Regions from separate parts of the Homo sapiens genome. Here all the other regions are linked to region 3. Evidence: promoter capture Hi-C in human tissues and cell types (Jung and others, 2019). All regions are on one chromosome and are shown on one strand. Each heading gives the region's core, a stretch centred on a gene start or on the middle of the fragment in contact. The rest is flanking DNA. Distances are from core to core; before and after follow the strand shown. Region 1 overlaps DLG1 (discs large MAGUK scaffold protein 1). Region 2 overlaps LOC105374308 (a long non-coding RNA gene). Region 3 holds the start of PIGZ (phosphatidylinositol glycan anchor biosynthesis class Z (Gwada blood group)).

What was found. The method cuts DNA at HindIII sites, captures the fragments that hold promoters and counts their contacts. A contact is called where the count stands out against the background at its distance.
Region 1: a fragment that was not itself captured here is called in contact with the fragment with the promoter of PIGZ in region 3 in 1 of the 25 tissues and cell types used here (dorsolateral prefrontal cortex).
Region 2: a fragment that was not itself captured here is called in contact with the fragment with the promoter of PIGZ in region 3 in 1 of the 25 tissues and cell types used here (dorsolateral prefrontal cortex).

The regions. Positions count from the first base shown.
Region 1 is chr3:197,287,708-197,292,367 of GRCh38, forward strand. The region is part of intron 3 of DLG1 (discs large MAGUK scaffold protein 1); the gene reads right to left. Among named protein-coding and RNA genes, the nearest start is that of MIR4797, 3.9 kb to the right of the region's middle. The HindIII fragment of the contact is 4,093 bases long and covers 1-3,732 here.
Region 2 is chr3:197,416,706-197,421,237 of GRCh38, forward strand. LOC105374308 (a long non-coding RNA gene) reads right to left here. Exons shown (of 5, transcript NR_189108.1): 4 at 4,275-4,373; 5 at 1-1,524. Among named protein-coding and RNA genes, the nearest start is that of LINC02012, 91 kb to the right of the region's middle. RefSeq lists an enhancer at 1,206-1,721 and a silencer at 1,333-1,627. The HindIII fragment of the contact is 7,267 bases long and covers 1-4,532 here.
Region 3 is chr3:196,966,816-196,971,091 of GRCh38, forward strand. It overlaps PIGZ (phosphatidylinositol glycan anchor biosynthesis class Z (Gwada blood group)), which reads right to left and starts at 2,018. Exons shown (of 3, transcript NM_025163.4): 1 at 1,872-2,018. It overlaps LOC124906255 (collagen alpha-1(I) chain-like), which reads left to right and starts at 2,318. Exons shown (of 3, transcript XM_047449439.1): 1 at 2,318-2,434; 2 at 2,581-3,397; 3 at 3,486-4,276. The coding sequence starts at 2,318. The coding sequence ends at 3,396. RefSeq lists enhancers at 1,595-2,130, 2,131-2,666, 2,667-3,202 and silencers at 1,738-2,187, 2,248-2,457, 2,468-2,527, 2,638-2,697, 2,808-3,127 and 1 more. The HindIII fragment of the contact is 30,202 bases long and covers 1-4,276 here.

The DNA.
Region 1 (4,660 bases), core at 436-2,935, 320 kb after region 3:
TGGATATTTCTTTAATCAACAAAATGCACAATAAAACAGAAAAATGACTAAAGGTATATTCCATATATCAGAGTAGAAAATATTTAAAAGATGGATAACACTCTGTATTGCTTAAGGTATGGTGAATTGGTCATTCTTCCACATACTTCCTAAAAAATAAATACAACATTCCTAAGAGTATTTAACAAATTACCTCAATAGCCTTAAAATGCACACTCCCTTTGACCAAACAATTCATTTCTAGGAGTTTGTCCTAAGAATATAGTAAAGAATTGAAACAAAAATGCATATGCAAATACAATATTTATAATTCACAAAAATTACAAACCTAAATGCTCCTAGGAAACCATTAAAAAAACTACAGAAAATCTATATAGGCCGGGTGCAGTGGCTCACACCTGTAATCCCAGCACTTTGGGAGCCTGAAGCAGGCAGATCAGGAGGTCAAGAGATCGAGACCATCCTGGCCAACATGGTGAAACCCTGTCTCTACTAAAAATGCAAAAACTAGCTAGGCGTGGTGGCGCACGCCTGTAATCCCAGCTACTCAGGAGGCTGAGGCAGGAGAATCACTTGAACCCAGGAGGCAGAGGTAGCAGTGAGCCGAGATTGCACCACTACACTCCAGCCTGGTGACAGATCAAGACTCCGTCTCAAAAAAAAAAAAAAAAAAAAGAAAAGAAAAGGAAAAAAAAAATCTATATACACAGTCACTTAAAATGGTACGAATCTGGCCAGGCACAGTGGTTCATGCATGTAATCCCAGCACTTCGAGAGGCTGAGGCGGGCGGATCACCTGAGGTCAGGAGTTCGAGACCAACCTGACCAACATGAAGAAACCCTGTCTGTATTAAAAATACAAAATTAGCCAGGCGTGGTGGCACATGCCTGTAATCCCAGCTATTCAGGAGGCTGAGGCAGGAGAATCGCTTGAACCTAGGAGGCGGAGGTTGTGGTGAGCTGAGATCAAGCCATTGCACTCCAGCCTGGGCAACAAGAGTGAAACTGTCTCAAAAAAAAAAAAAAAAAAAAAAAAATACATACATACATACATACATACATACATAAAATGGTAGAAATCTACTGACATGGAAAGACATTTGTCGATAAACTTTAGAAGATAAAAACAATATGTATAGTACAGAGAAATCATACTATTCACACTTATACAAATACAACTGCAGTATATCTCCCCTGCAAAAAAGGGCAACTCTGTCTACCCAATAAGTGACTGTCACAAATAAAAAAATGAGAAGGAAGAAGATTCTTCCTTTAGGTAGTCTGAGTTTTCATGTGCCTCTCAAAATGTGAGCTTCTTGCTATATCTCACTGTGCTGAGTGTGATTCTATAATTACGTGTTTTTAGTACAAGAAGTCAAACAAGCCAGTTGCTTCGTCTAGGGCTCAAGTGAAGAAATCATTCCTTTCCACTAGAGGAAAAAAAACAATTGTGCTGTAATTAACAAGAGCTAGTGTTAAATTTCTGAAGGCTTTTCAGGGATAATTTTAACTAGATGAGGTTTTTCACCTTACATGCTGATTTTAAGTATCAATTCTCACAAGGGAAATAACTGTTTTACTTAGAAGTTTGTTTTGCAAAATGAAGGTGGGGGGTGGCGTGTATACACGCGCATACACACACACACACACACACACACACAAATAACATTCCAGGATATTCATCCCATGGATGAAGTAGGAGGTAACCTCTGGTGTGAATATTTTCTTATGGTATTTTACATATAATAATCTGATCTCAAATGTTTTATATAGAACATGCATCATTTTTATAATAAATTTATTTTGGAGGGTTACAGGAAAGGCAACTAGAAAGCTGAAGAACACTGAAATATAACCCTACCATTTCAGAGGAAAAAAATTCTATCAGTTCATTTACTAAAAGCAAGTATGATTATTCAGACAATACCCAATTGAGTAATCAAAATTAACATCATCAGTGAAGGGCAGATGACATACTAAGATAATACCACAATAGTCAAATCTACTCAAGCACAAATACTCTTTCTTCTAAACCAATGTTCATTTAAAAAGTCATTTTTGACCCCTAGAAGAAAGAATATCCTATAAAATTTAAAAGTTTGTACTATTGTTTCACACACTAAAGAAAGGAAAGATGTCAAGCTAGTAGGCAAAAATAAATCACTTGAATACTTTAGATACTATTAGACTAAGAATCATACATGACTCACAAGCATATTCCATAAAACAAGGTGTGTACTAAAAGGAACCAGAGCTTCTCAGAGAAATGGCTGATTCCAGGGCTGGGGCAGGAGAGGTACAAGATAAACCTGGAACATCTTGTTATGCCAAAAATTAAGAAAGTGCTCCAAAAAATGATGAGGGCATCTCATAAGGACACAAGCTTGAAAGGGCCCCCACTGGATCACTCAGAGCACAAATGTCATTAAGGATGGTAATAAATGATAAGTCATTGAAAAAAAAACAGGTATCTGCAAGTTCATGAAAGACACGGGAAAAAAAGAAGGAAGGCTCTTGTTTAGAATAAAATGCAAAGTGTTAACTGGTAAACCTAGGAGTGTTACTGTTAGAAATCTTACTTTTCAACAACCATATTATAAACCGGTTCAAGAATCATCAATGGATGCTAAATATGGGTGGAAATTTTGCTAAGGAGTAGGATATGTACATGGTGTTAAAGTGTCTCCCCCACATATTGCCTATAAGCCACAAGGGGTAAAAAACAATGACTATAGGATACAGAATTCAGACAACACCCAACTAGGTAATCAAAATCAGTATCATCAACAAAGAGCAGATGACTCTGTGTACCTCTGGATGTACAGAATCCTAAGCCAGGAATACAAAACCTGAATCTAATCACAAGGAAACATCAGACAAACCCAAAATGAGAAAATTATATTAAAAAAAAGTAAGAGTGGAAGGAACTGCGTTTTTCAAAATCATCAATCTCAGCTGGGCGCAGTGGCTCACACCTGTAATCCCAGAACTTTGCTCAGGAGTTCGAGACCAGCCTGGGCAACACCTGTCTCTAGAAAAAGTTAGCCAGGCGTGGGGGCTCACACCTGTAGTCCCAGCTACTCAGGAGCCTGAGGCAGGAGGATTGCTTGAGCCTGGGAAGCAGAGGTTGCAGTAAGCCACCACTGCACTCCAGCCTGGGTGGCAGAGCAAGACCCTGTCTCCAAATAGTAAAAAAAAAAAAAAAAAAAAAAAAGTCAGTCTCACACAAGACAAAGAAAAGCTGTGGAAATGTGCCCTAAGTAAAGAGACGTGACAACTAACGGTAATATCTGGTCCAAGTCTGGATTCTGCACTGAGGAAAAATATGACCCTGCAGAGAGGAAATGGCTTAGAAGAAATATTTAGATGCCTTTACAACTCTGATTCCAAGGTTCTAAAGAGAATTCAGCCAGATTCAACATAATCAAAACACTGCTTCAGAGCAGTAGTAAGCAAACTATGAGCAAAGAACTCAATCTAATTGAATCAAAACCATCAAGTGAGAAGTTACTAAAATTCTCCATTTCAGGAAGTTTCAGCCAACGATGTGATCCATATCCTGTTTTCCTTACTCAAATCTAGCCTACAAAGTTACACACACACACACACACACACACACACACACACACACACAGTTAGCAAGAGACTAAAATGTAACATCAGTGGGACTAATATAATGCAAAAGAAATTTAAGAAATTTTGACATTTTACCACTATAGCTGGAAGATCTCAAACCCTGATTACTAAACACTGTTTTCAAAATGTGTGATTTCCATCATCATAAACATAATGCACCATTATAAATATTTTCCTTCAAAGTGACAATCATTTAAAGATTACTAACCCTAAAGATTGCTATCTGTCTTAAGCATGCTTGTCATTTAGTATTCTTTATCAGATTAAAATACTCAGTTCTGAAAAACAACGATAAAGAATATCCCAATGGTTGACGGTGAGAAGTATCTATGGATTCAGATTAGTTGAGTTCAATTTCTGGCTCCGCAATTTAGCATCTGAGGGTCCAAGGGCAAGATTGGTCATTTCTCAGTGCTTCAGTTTTCCAGTCTATAAAACAGTACAAACACCTCATACAGGTGAATGTACACCTCACAGGATTACAATGACTAAATGATATATTTGTATTAGCACATAGAAAGTGCTCAATAAATGTTGGTTATTATGTTTTACATACACTTGAAGAGGAGTCATATACTCACACTTATTAGGATGGCTATTATCAAAAAAAGAAAGGAAAAAAATTAAGTATCGGCAAGGATGTGGAGAAACTGGAAATCCTGTGTGCTGCTGGTGAGACTGTAAAATGCTGCAATCACTATGGAAAACATTATGGTGGGCCCTCAAAAAATTAAAAATGTAACTGCCGTATGATCCCACAATCCTATTTCTGGGTAAATATCCAAAAGAACTGAAAGCAGGGTCTTGAAGAAATATTTGCACACTCACATTCCTAACAGCATTATTCACAACAGCCAGGAGGAGGAAGCAACCCAACTGTCCATCAATGGATGGCTAGATAAAATGCGGTATATACATACAACGGAATATTATTCAGCCTGAAAAAGGAAGAAAATCCTGTCAACAACTACAACATGAATGAACCTTGCGGACTCTACACTGAGTGAAATAAGCCAGTCGCAAA
Region 2 (4,532 bases), core at 1,773-4,272, 450 kb after region 3:
CTGCTCATTATTGTGACCTCCCTCATCCCTGAGTTAAAGTCTTAATCTGTGCATACTCGGTGGAAACTTATTTGTCCAAAGTTGTTTGTCTATGTTATTGCTTTAGGGCCTCCAAAGATCTGGCCAAGTTAGGTGGCATTAGAACAAGTATCTTGGCTGGGCGCAGTGGCTCATGCCTGTAATCCCAGCACTTTGGGAGGCTGAGGCTGGCAGATCACGAGGTCAGGAGATCGAGACCATCCTGGCCAACATGGTGAAACCCTGTCTCTACTAAAAATACAAAAATTAGCCAGGTGTGGTGGTGCGTACCTGTAGTCCCAGCTACTAGAGAGGCTGAGGCAGGAGAATCCCTTGAACCTGGCAGGTGGAGGTTGCAGTGAGCCAAGATCGTATCACTGCACTCCAGCCTGGTGACAGAGCAAGACTCCATCTCAAAAAAAAAAAAAAGAGCAAGTATCTCTATTTTTGTTCTCTTCCTGTGCAACTTGGTTGCACTATATAGTTGTACCTTTCTGTTGGTTTTATTTGATTCCAAGAGTGATGATCTTAAGTTTTATATAAATATTAAATATTAAATTTGCCTGCTTGGTGTGCAAGCAAAACCTCTAATCATTAATTTTGGTCAAGTTTAAAACAGAGATTCCCATTTATGGCGCACGTCGGTATAAACACGGCAGCTTTATAAAAATTCCCATGCCTGAGGCCCATCCCCCCAAAATCTATTTTAATTGATTTGGAGTAGGGCCTGGGTATTGATTTTTTTTCTTTTGTTTTTAAAAAGCTCCCTGATGATTCTGTTTGCAGCCAGAATTGAGAGCCGTTGTTCTGAATGATGCCTGAGAAGAGTGTTAATCTGGCGTGTGTCGGGGCAAGGGGAGGCACGGTCGAGGGAGGTGTTAAACTGAGTTGGCTGACTTGTTTTGTCTGTCTTCAGCCCAGTAGCTGGACAGGAACAAAGTCAAGACTACAGTGCAGTTATGTAAGGCTTGAGGATAAGCCTCTTCCACTAAAACTGACTCATTACTGTGTGTATATTCCATTTAAAGCAATCTAGAGCAATAATGTGGAAATACTGGGTGAGAGCCACGTTTTGTGAATATGGTTAGGGCCCAATAATGGTCAATAATCATTCTATGACCAGAATGGAGAAGTGACAGTAAAAAAGAACTCTCCCATTTAAAATAATCTGCACTGGAAATGCCCCAGTGTTTCTCGTAATACCGGCTGATACTGAGCCCAGTAACACACTCATATTGCCTTGAATTTCAAGACAGCACTGTGGTGATCTCTGATGATTCGAGGCTCACATTTTGCCATCTCTTGCACCCGAGCTGAACTTCTGGCTCAGTGTGTCTGAAGGCAGAGTGGGAAGACAATTCAGGTAGCAGAGAAGTGAACAAAGGACATTCCCTGAATAGGCGAATTCAAGCTCGTTAGCAGTTAGTTAGCCTGGAATGAGGCTGATCATCTGTCGGCGGAATTTTTCAGGAGCTGCAAATGGTTGGAATCTTTGTTTTCCTTTTCCTGGGAAAGAGAGGTCCATTAGCTCTCCAGCTGCATTAGAGCTTAATTTATTTTGTTTTGTTTTGGTTTTTAACACTGTAGAGGGGACAGTACATTCCAAATGTTAGAGGACAGCTAAGGGAGATTCGTCCTCTTTAGAGGGTATCATTAAGCATATGGTGCCTCACAGGGATGGGGAAGGCAGTGCACAGGCAGGAGCCAAGACAGGGATTAGCTCATAGAAGGCGGCTGGCTGGATATAGGAAGAGCTGCCAGGTAAAGGGACCCAAGCTTGGGACTTAAAGCTCAGGTCTAGTCGTGTTTTTAAAGAGTTGTCATCTTTCAAACATACAAGGGTAAAGATTTAGGAACTGCCCTCAGGAATGAGATGCATGAAACTCACAGACAAACCGAAATCCCAGAATCTTTGGTACCTAGTGGACATTTCCCTGGGGCTGACTCCTGGGCGGGGTGTCTGCTGCCCTCCACTAACAGCCAGGGAGCCCAGCCCTTGGTATAGGATTCCTGGGCAGGGTGTCTGCTGCCCTCCACTAACAGCCAGGGAGCCCAGCCCTTGGTATAGGAGTACAGGCTGAAGTGCCCAGGGGTTTACCCGATCCCACAGTTTTAGAGGCAAGAAGCTGACATTTAAGGCTTGAATAGTGCTCCTTTTCTAAGTAAATGACAACCTGGAGAAAGGTCTAACTGAGCCAGGTGTTCGACATTTTCAAACTGACTTTCTTTTCAAAGAGACCTGGAAGATTGACTCCCATCGTACTCTCTCCCAGCCTCCCGGTGGAAAGGGAGTCCCTAGTCCCATTGTGGCTCCAGAATGTGACAAAGGCACAGGCACAGGCTCAGCTTGGCTTAGCCTGCTGTCCCTTCCCGAAGGCTGTGTCTTCAGTGGGATGAGAAAGACTTTGGCAGAGGCTTTTAGGCTATGAACAGGCCAGGTGCATTTAGTCAGCAGTGTAAGCTAATACCAGAAAAGATGAAGTAGAGAAAGGCGCTGTGAAATTGCCACCTGAGGCAGAACCATATGAGGCTGAATCCAGGGGAGACCCTGTTTCTCATGGCCCTTGCCTGATGGTCATGATAAATTAAATACAAACACCTACCCATATGCTAGAAATTGATTTCAACTCCTTTACCAAATAAGCAAAATATCGGCATCGATTATGTATAGTTAGATCTCTGTTTGCCAATCAATCTTCTTCTGCAATCCCCGATCTGCGCTAGACAGAGCAAACCCCTTCTCTGTGCCACCTGAGCAGTGCTTTAGTTGGACTCTGCTATGCTCACTGCTTCGGACAGGGAAAGTGACTCTCCCAGGCTACAGTGGACCTGTAACTTACTCATCTTGCATCCTCAGCAGTGGAAGGCTCTTGGTGAACGTCAATGGAATGAACCTGTGTGTGCATGTAGTCCATCTATTATCTCTAATAAACACTGAAAGCCAAAGAACAAGGATGGAGTAATCAGGAAACAGAGAGAGAGGTATCATCAGGTAACCAGGAGGAGTAATCAGGAAATAGAGAGAGAGGTATCATCAGGTAACCAGGAGGTAGAGGCGTAAGGTTGAAACATATGAAATCATTCATAGCCAGTTAGTTTCTCTTCTAACTGACCTTCTAAGTGACCTTCTAAGTGACCTTCTCCTGGTCACCTCACTCCCCACATCCCCAAAGGAGGAAGTGCAGTGGACAGGTGTTGGCTGAGAGTCCAGAGGACCTGGATCAAGAGTCAGGAGGGTGGGCTTCTCTCTAATTGAACGTGTGGCTTGGAGTCAGTTCCTCTCCTTTTCTGGGCTTCAGTTTCCCCTTCTCTAGAAGAAGAATAGACTAGGTGGCCTCTCAAAGTCTTTACAGCTCTGATATTTTGTAATTTTATGTATCTAATGCTATAATTCCAAAGTATTAAAGAAAAGGGCAGTGCCCCATGGTTTGAGGGGCAGAGACTATAGCACAGATTGCACCAAACCCTGAATTTACCCAGCAGCCTTTGGCCCTGGAGGACCTAAGTGAGTTTCAGCCTGAAAACACTCAGTGTTTCCAATGCCAGACCCCAGCTGCACAAAATAGGAAAAATCTTGTTAGGAAATGACCACAGTCCCCTAGAGCTGTGGAAAACATTGCCTCAGACAAAAAGGACTTTTCCATTGGGAAAAAAAAATCAGCAGTATTGTGTCTGCTGATGCTGTCTGCCCAGGCGGTTCTCATCGAGTCCTGCCTACTCAGGTCCCTGGCTCTGGGGCAGTTCTTTTCCACTTCATGTTGGTCCTAATGGTAAATGCAGGTTGTTCTCCTCTTCTGGCCCCAACTGTCCCAGGAATCAGACTTGGAAGTCATTTTAAAATTCATCTTTGGACTGTCTGACTTTTCAATACTTCCTCCAGAGGCAAAAATCACAAAATGCTTTCACCGCAATGGGTCTCAGAAGTTATCTCGTGATACCTATTTAATCCCCTGTCTGTGGAGGAACATGACGTCCCAGGTAGGGAAGTGCATTGCTCAAGGTCACATAGAGAGGTCAGGGGACCTGGTCCTGAGCCCAGTTCAGGGTTCTTTCCATTTCCAAGCTGTCTCTAGCCACAGGGCCAATTCTCTTCTACCTTCCCACAGCAGATGTTTCCCAACCAACCAACTAGCCAACCAGCTAACCAACCTGCAAGTATTTCCTATAAGCCTTGGACTGTGCATTCTCTGATGCTCTGCTGTAAACGATTATTTTTTTACTGTTCCAAAATGCAGCAGTAAAGAGTAAGCACTCACCTTTGGGGGCAGAGCAGAACTGGCCTGCTTCTTTGAGTCCTGCTTCGATTTCTGGAGCTTAAACATAGTGTCCCATCATTCCTTGAAGACATGCAGCTGCTAAGAAAGAGTTGCATATTTGTAAGTGGGGGCCAGTGAGAGATGTCTGGTCAGACCCCAGTTCTGGGGCGGGGTGGCTTTGGTCTGAGTGGTGGTCAGACCTATGCAGGAAGCCGCACCAGGCAGAGAGGAGGCCTCGGCCCGCCCAGGTTCCCACCC
Region 3 (4,276 bases), core at 768-3,267:
TCATTCATTCAGAGGGATCTGTCCGGGTGCGGGTCCAGCACGGGTCCAAATCCTGCATCTCCAGTAGCCTCCTGGGGGTCGGTCGTCGGGAGGGCTCGTGAGCGGAAGGCTTTAGGATGAAGCGACAGGGCCCAGAGTCGTGGAGATTGGACTGGGGGGCAGGGGAGCAGGCATTGACAACCACGCCGACAGGGGCATCCCGCGCGCCTGTGTGGGAGAATGTGTAGGGCAAGCAGCAGGGAGAGACCATCTCAGAGACAGGGGAACAGCCAAGCAGAAACCACTGTGCTGGGCGCGGGGGGAGGCCGGGAAAGACAGCACATCTGCGGGGCGGGAGGAGGGGAGGGAAGGGAGTAGAAACACTGCTCCCGCCAGCCGCGGGTGATGGGGACACGTGTCCAGCTCGCTGAGTCCGAGGGCCTGGGCCCGCTTTGGGTGCCCTGTTTCTCCGGCGCCCAGGTGTGTGCGCAGAACCGTGTCTGCTCCAGGGACAGCCGTGAACGAGCGCCGTCCGGAGTGGCAGGGCCATCAGGTGTGGCTCATTCCAAGAAAGGTCCGTACCTTCACATGTAAACTTCCTGGCAAAGCTGCTGGGTTGCCGCTTATGGGAGAAGGCGGCGGGCCCAAGGTTCGGCCCCTTTGTCTGAATCTGGCATTTGGAGCAGGCTTTAAGACTTCGGGAAAAGCCGGGCCCCTGTGCAACCACCAAAGGCTGCTTCTCCCGCCCTCAGGACTAAGATCTTGTTCCAGTCCTCCAGTCCTCGGGGTCTACTCCAGGGGTACAAGGTGAGAGTGGCTCTCCAGAGTCCATTTGCCTTTTGGTGCCGCACTGCATCCTCACTTTGACCCTGAGCGCTGCAGTAAGCCCTGCAGGGTGCTCCACCTTGAAGCACGGGAAGATCTGATGCTGGCCGCCTTCTTCCTTCGGTTGCCTGAAAGGGCCCGTGTTTATCCTTCGCTTCACAGAGAACGCAACACACAACATTAAACACACATAGAGAGTGAAAGAGAACAAGGCATCTTCATCAAGGAGGGCGCACCATTTAACCACCCGCGACCTTGCAGTGCGCCTCTGCAAAGTGGGGACTCCGCTCTGTAGCAGGAGATGGGGGTGTTGACGATTTTGAAAGTAGTTCTCAGTTTTCCGAGGCAAAGGTGTCTGGGGCTGACGAATGACTTTTGAGAAGAAGGAATGATGAGAAATGTCCTCATTACAGAACTTTCCCGGCCACACTGTGAGTCCCACGCAAAGACCCCATGACCACCAACCGGAGCGCTGGGTGCTCCCTGGCAGGGTCACCTTTGCTTTTTGCGCGCCCCCATGCCACCCCTGGGGCAGGAGGCCATCCTCTTATCCTGGGAGTGCAGGCCTGGCCCGAAGTGCAGCCCCCGAGGCCGGGAGCCGAGATTCTTCTCGGCTTCGTGCTCAGAGCTTTGCAGCGTGGCATGGTTTCCTCCTCTTGCCCTGTTGCTGTTTCATACCAGGGGGAACTGAGACCCAGTCGGGTTATGGGCCTCCCTGAGAACACTGGCCTCTAGCAGAAGCAGATTCAACCCCAGGCCTCAACCTGCGCCCAGACCCGTGCCCTGGAGTGGAGTTTACCCACTGCCGCCCTTCCTGGGCAAATGTCACCGCTGCCTCCGTCCCCCTAGGTCCGGGGCGGGTCAGTGCTTCGAGCCAGCGGACCCCGGCCTAGGGACAGGTGCCTGCGAGAATGCGGGGGGCGGCCCCCAGCTCCCCTGCCCTCCTCCCTAGAGGCTGGGCCTGCTGGTCTCCCGGCTGCGCGCAAGGTGGGAACGCGGCCGACTTGGTCCGCTCGCCCTCCCCGCACCCGCTCCTCTGGAGCCGCTGGGGCTGCGCACCGACTCACCCGCGCGGCCTCCGGGCTGCGCCTTCAGCGCTGGCGGCGTCCTGCCCGGCGAGGGCCAGGGTCCCAGGAGGCCCCGGAGGCGGCGGGACCGCAGGGCGGAGGGGAGGCCGTGGGAGCGGCCGGGCGCGCCTCAGCAGCGCGGAGACTGGGGCCGCCGCCGCCGGCGCAGGGCGGGCCGGGAGGGAGGAGGAGCGCGCGGGCGGGGCCGCCGTGTACGTCCCCGCGCTCCCGCCCGGCCTGGCCCCGCGGTCCCGGAGCGAGCTGGGGCCGCGCTGGGGAGGGTCCTGGGGGCGCCGCCGTCCCTCGGGCCGGGCAACGCCGGGCGGGGACCGGTCTCGCCCCGCCGCGCTCGGGCTCCCTCCCCGGCGGCCCCTCCTCGGCGAACAGCCTTTCGGCGCGGGGGGCTGTTAAACCAGACACCCCAGGCCACACTCCTCTCGTTCGAAATGACCATTTCGGGGTTCTCCGTGGCGGGGAGCTCCGCCGCCGCCGTCCCCCTTCCACGCGCGGGAGGTCGGCGAGGGCAGGGCGGGGACCCGGAGTGCGGCCCCCGGTCCTGCTTCGTGGCCCGAAACGCCTCGCAATGGAGTCACTCATGACAGGGGACTCAGCGCACGGGGCGGCTGCTGAGCCCCGCAGCGATCGGCGGGCGTGAGGGGTTCCCCGGCGTGGTTGCCCGGGAGCCTGTCAGCCCCAGCAGCCCTGACAGGAAAGGGAAGTCGAGAGGAGGCTGAGCGAACGGCCGCCACCCCCGCGGGACGCTGACCCGGGCGGACCCCGAGGGGCCTCTCCCCGCGCCAGAGCGCGGCGTGCGCGGGGAAGCGCGACCCACCGGGGTCGGCGACGGCGCGCGGGGCGGGCGCGGCGGTTCCCTCTCCTCCGCCCGTGCCCGTGGGATCGGCGGGCTTGTCGGGCTGGGAGAGCCTCGTGGAACCCGGGCATCCGGGCAGCAGCGGCCTCCGAGCCACTGTGGAGGCGCCCGGGGTCGGCACGGCGAGGCCGACGGGGACCTGACACGGTCACGCGGCGCCGGGGAGCAGGTTCGAGTGGCCGGGCGTGGCCGTGCTGCCCCTCCGCGTTCCGCAGGCGGCGACGGGCGAGCGGCCCTAGCGGGCTGCAGGGAGGACGCCGCGTGGACGGAGAGCCGGCGCCCGGGGGCCAGATCCCCTCCCGGGACGGGGCGCCAGGTCCCCGCGAGCTGCGGCGCGACGCGCGGGCACCCGTGTCCCACCCGGTGGCCTCGCCGCTGCGGGCTGCGCTGAGAGCGGGGTGGCGCGACGCGGTCCCTCACCGCAGGGGGAAGACGGCACCACCGCGTCCCGGCCGCTGGAGCTTCCCGCCCGCGCCGCCGGCCCGACGCTGCCCCCTGGCGGGAGAGCGCTGCAGGGGCCCCGGCGAGGCCGCAGGACCCGACCTCCCCGCCGGCCTCGCACTCCCGCGCCGCCGCCGAGGGTCGGCAGCCGGATCGCCCTCCGTGCCCCATAGCACCCCTCACACTAAAAACGACGACTTTATTAAGATGTGAGGTATTCTATACATACGATAAATACCAGGAAATTTAAGTACAGTACATGGAAGTATACAGTTCCATGAATTTTTTCCTTTATTTTTTAGATACAGGGTCTCTGTCGCCCAGGCTGGAGTGCGGTGGCACGATCTCGGCTCACCGCAGCCTTGAACTTCTAGGCTCCAGCGATCCTCCTGCCTCAGCCTCCCGAGCAGCTGGGACCACAGGCCCCGCCACCATGCCCGGCTCAGTTCCATGACTTCTGACACGCGAAACCACCAGGCTAGTCTCCCCCCGAGTTCAAGAAGTCCTCTCCTCCCAAAAGTACCCTCCTGCCCCTCTGCAGCTAACCCCTCACCTCCCCTCCGCCCTGGTTCCAGACAACTGCTCCTCTGATTTCTGTCACTGCCCTTTGCCTCTCTCGCAATTGCATGCAAGGAGAACCATTCACCGTGTGGTCTTTTGTGCCTGGCTTTCTTCGCTTGGCACCATGCAGCTGAGCGTCGCCCGTGTGGCGTGTGTGTGTTGTATTTTCCTCTACCTTGGTCTTGAGACCTCCCTGGAGAGCCACTGTAAAGGCCAACTCTGCCCTGACAGGGCTCCTGGGATTTGGGCGTGGGTGTTTGCCGTGGGCCTTTCATGGGGCACCTCTGTATCCTGGCTGACCTGTGACCGGGTGTCCCTCTCCCAGGAGACATATTTATCCTGGCAGATCTCCTTGTGCTTCTTGTCTGACCTGTATCTAGTTTATTCCTACCAAGATAGCTGCTCTCTAGGGAAAGCCCTGACCAGGGAAAACGTTACGTTTGAGCGTCTCAGTCAGGCATGACACAGAGCAGGCAACACAACGAAACACAGGAACTAACAGAAGTGGTCCTATTACTTACAGATCCACAGG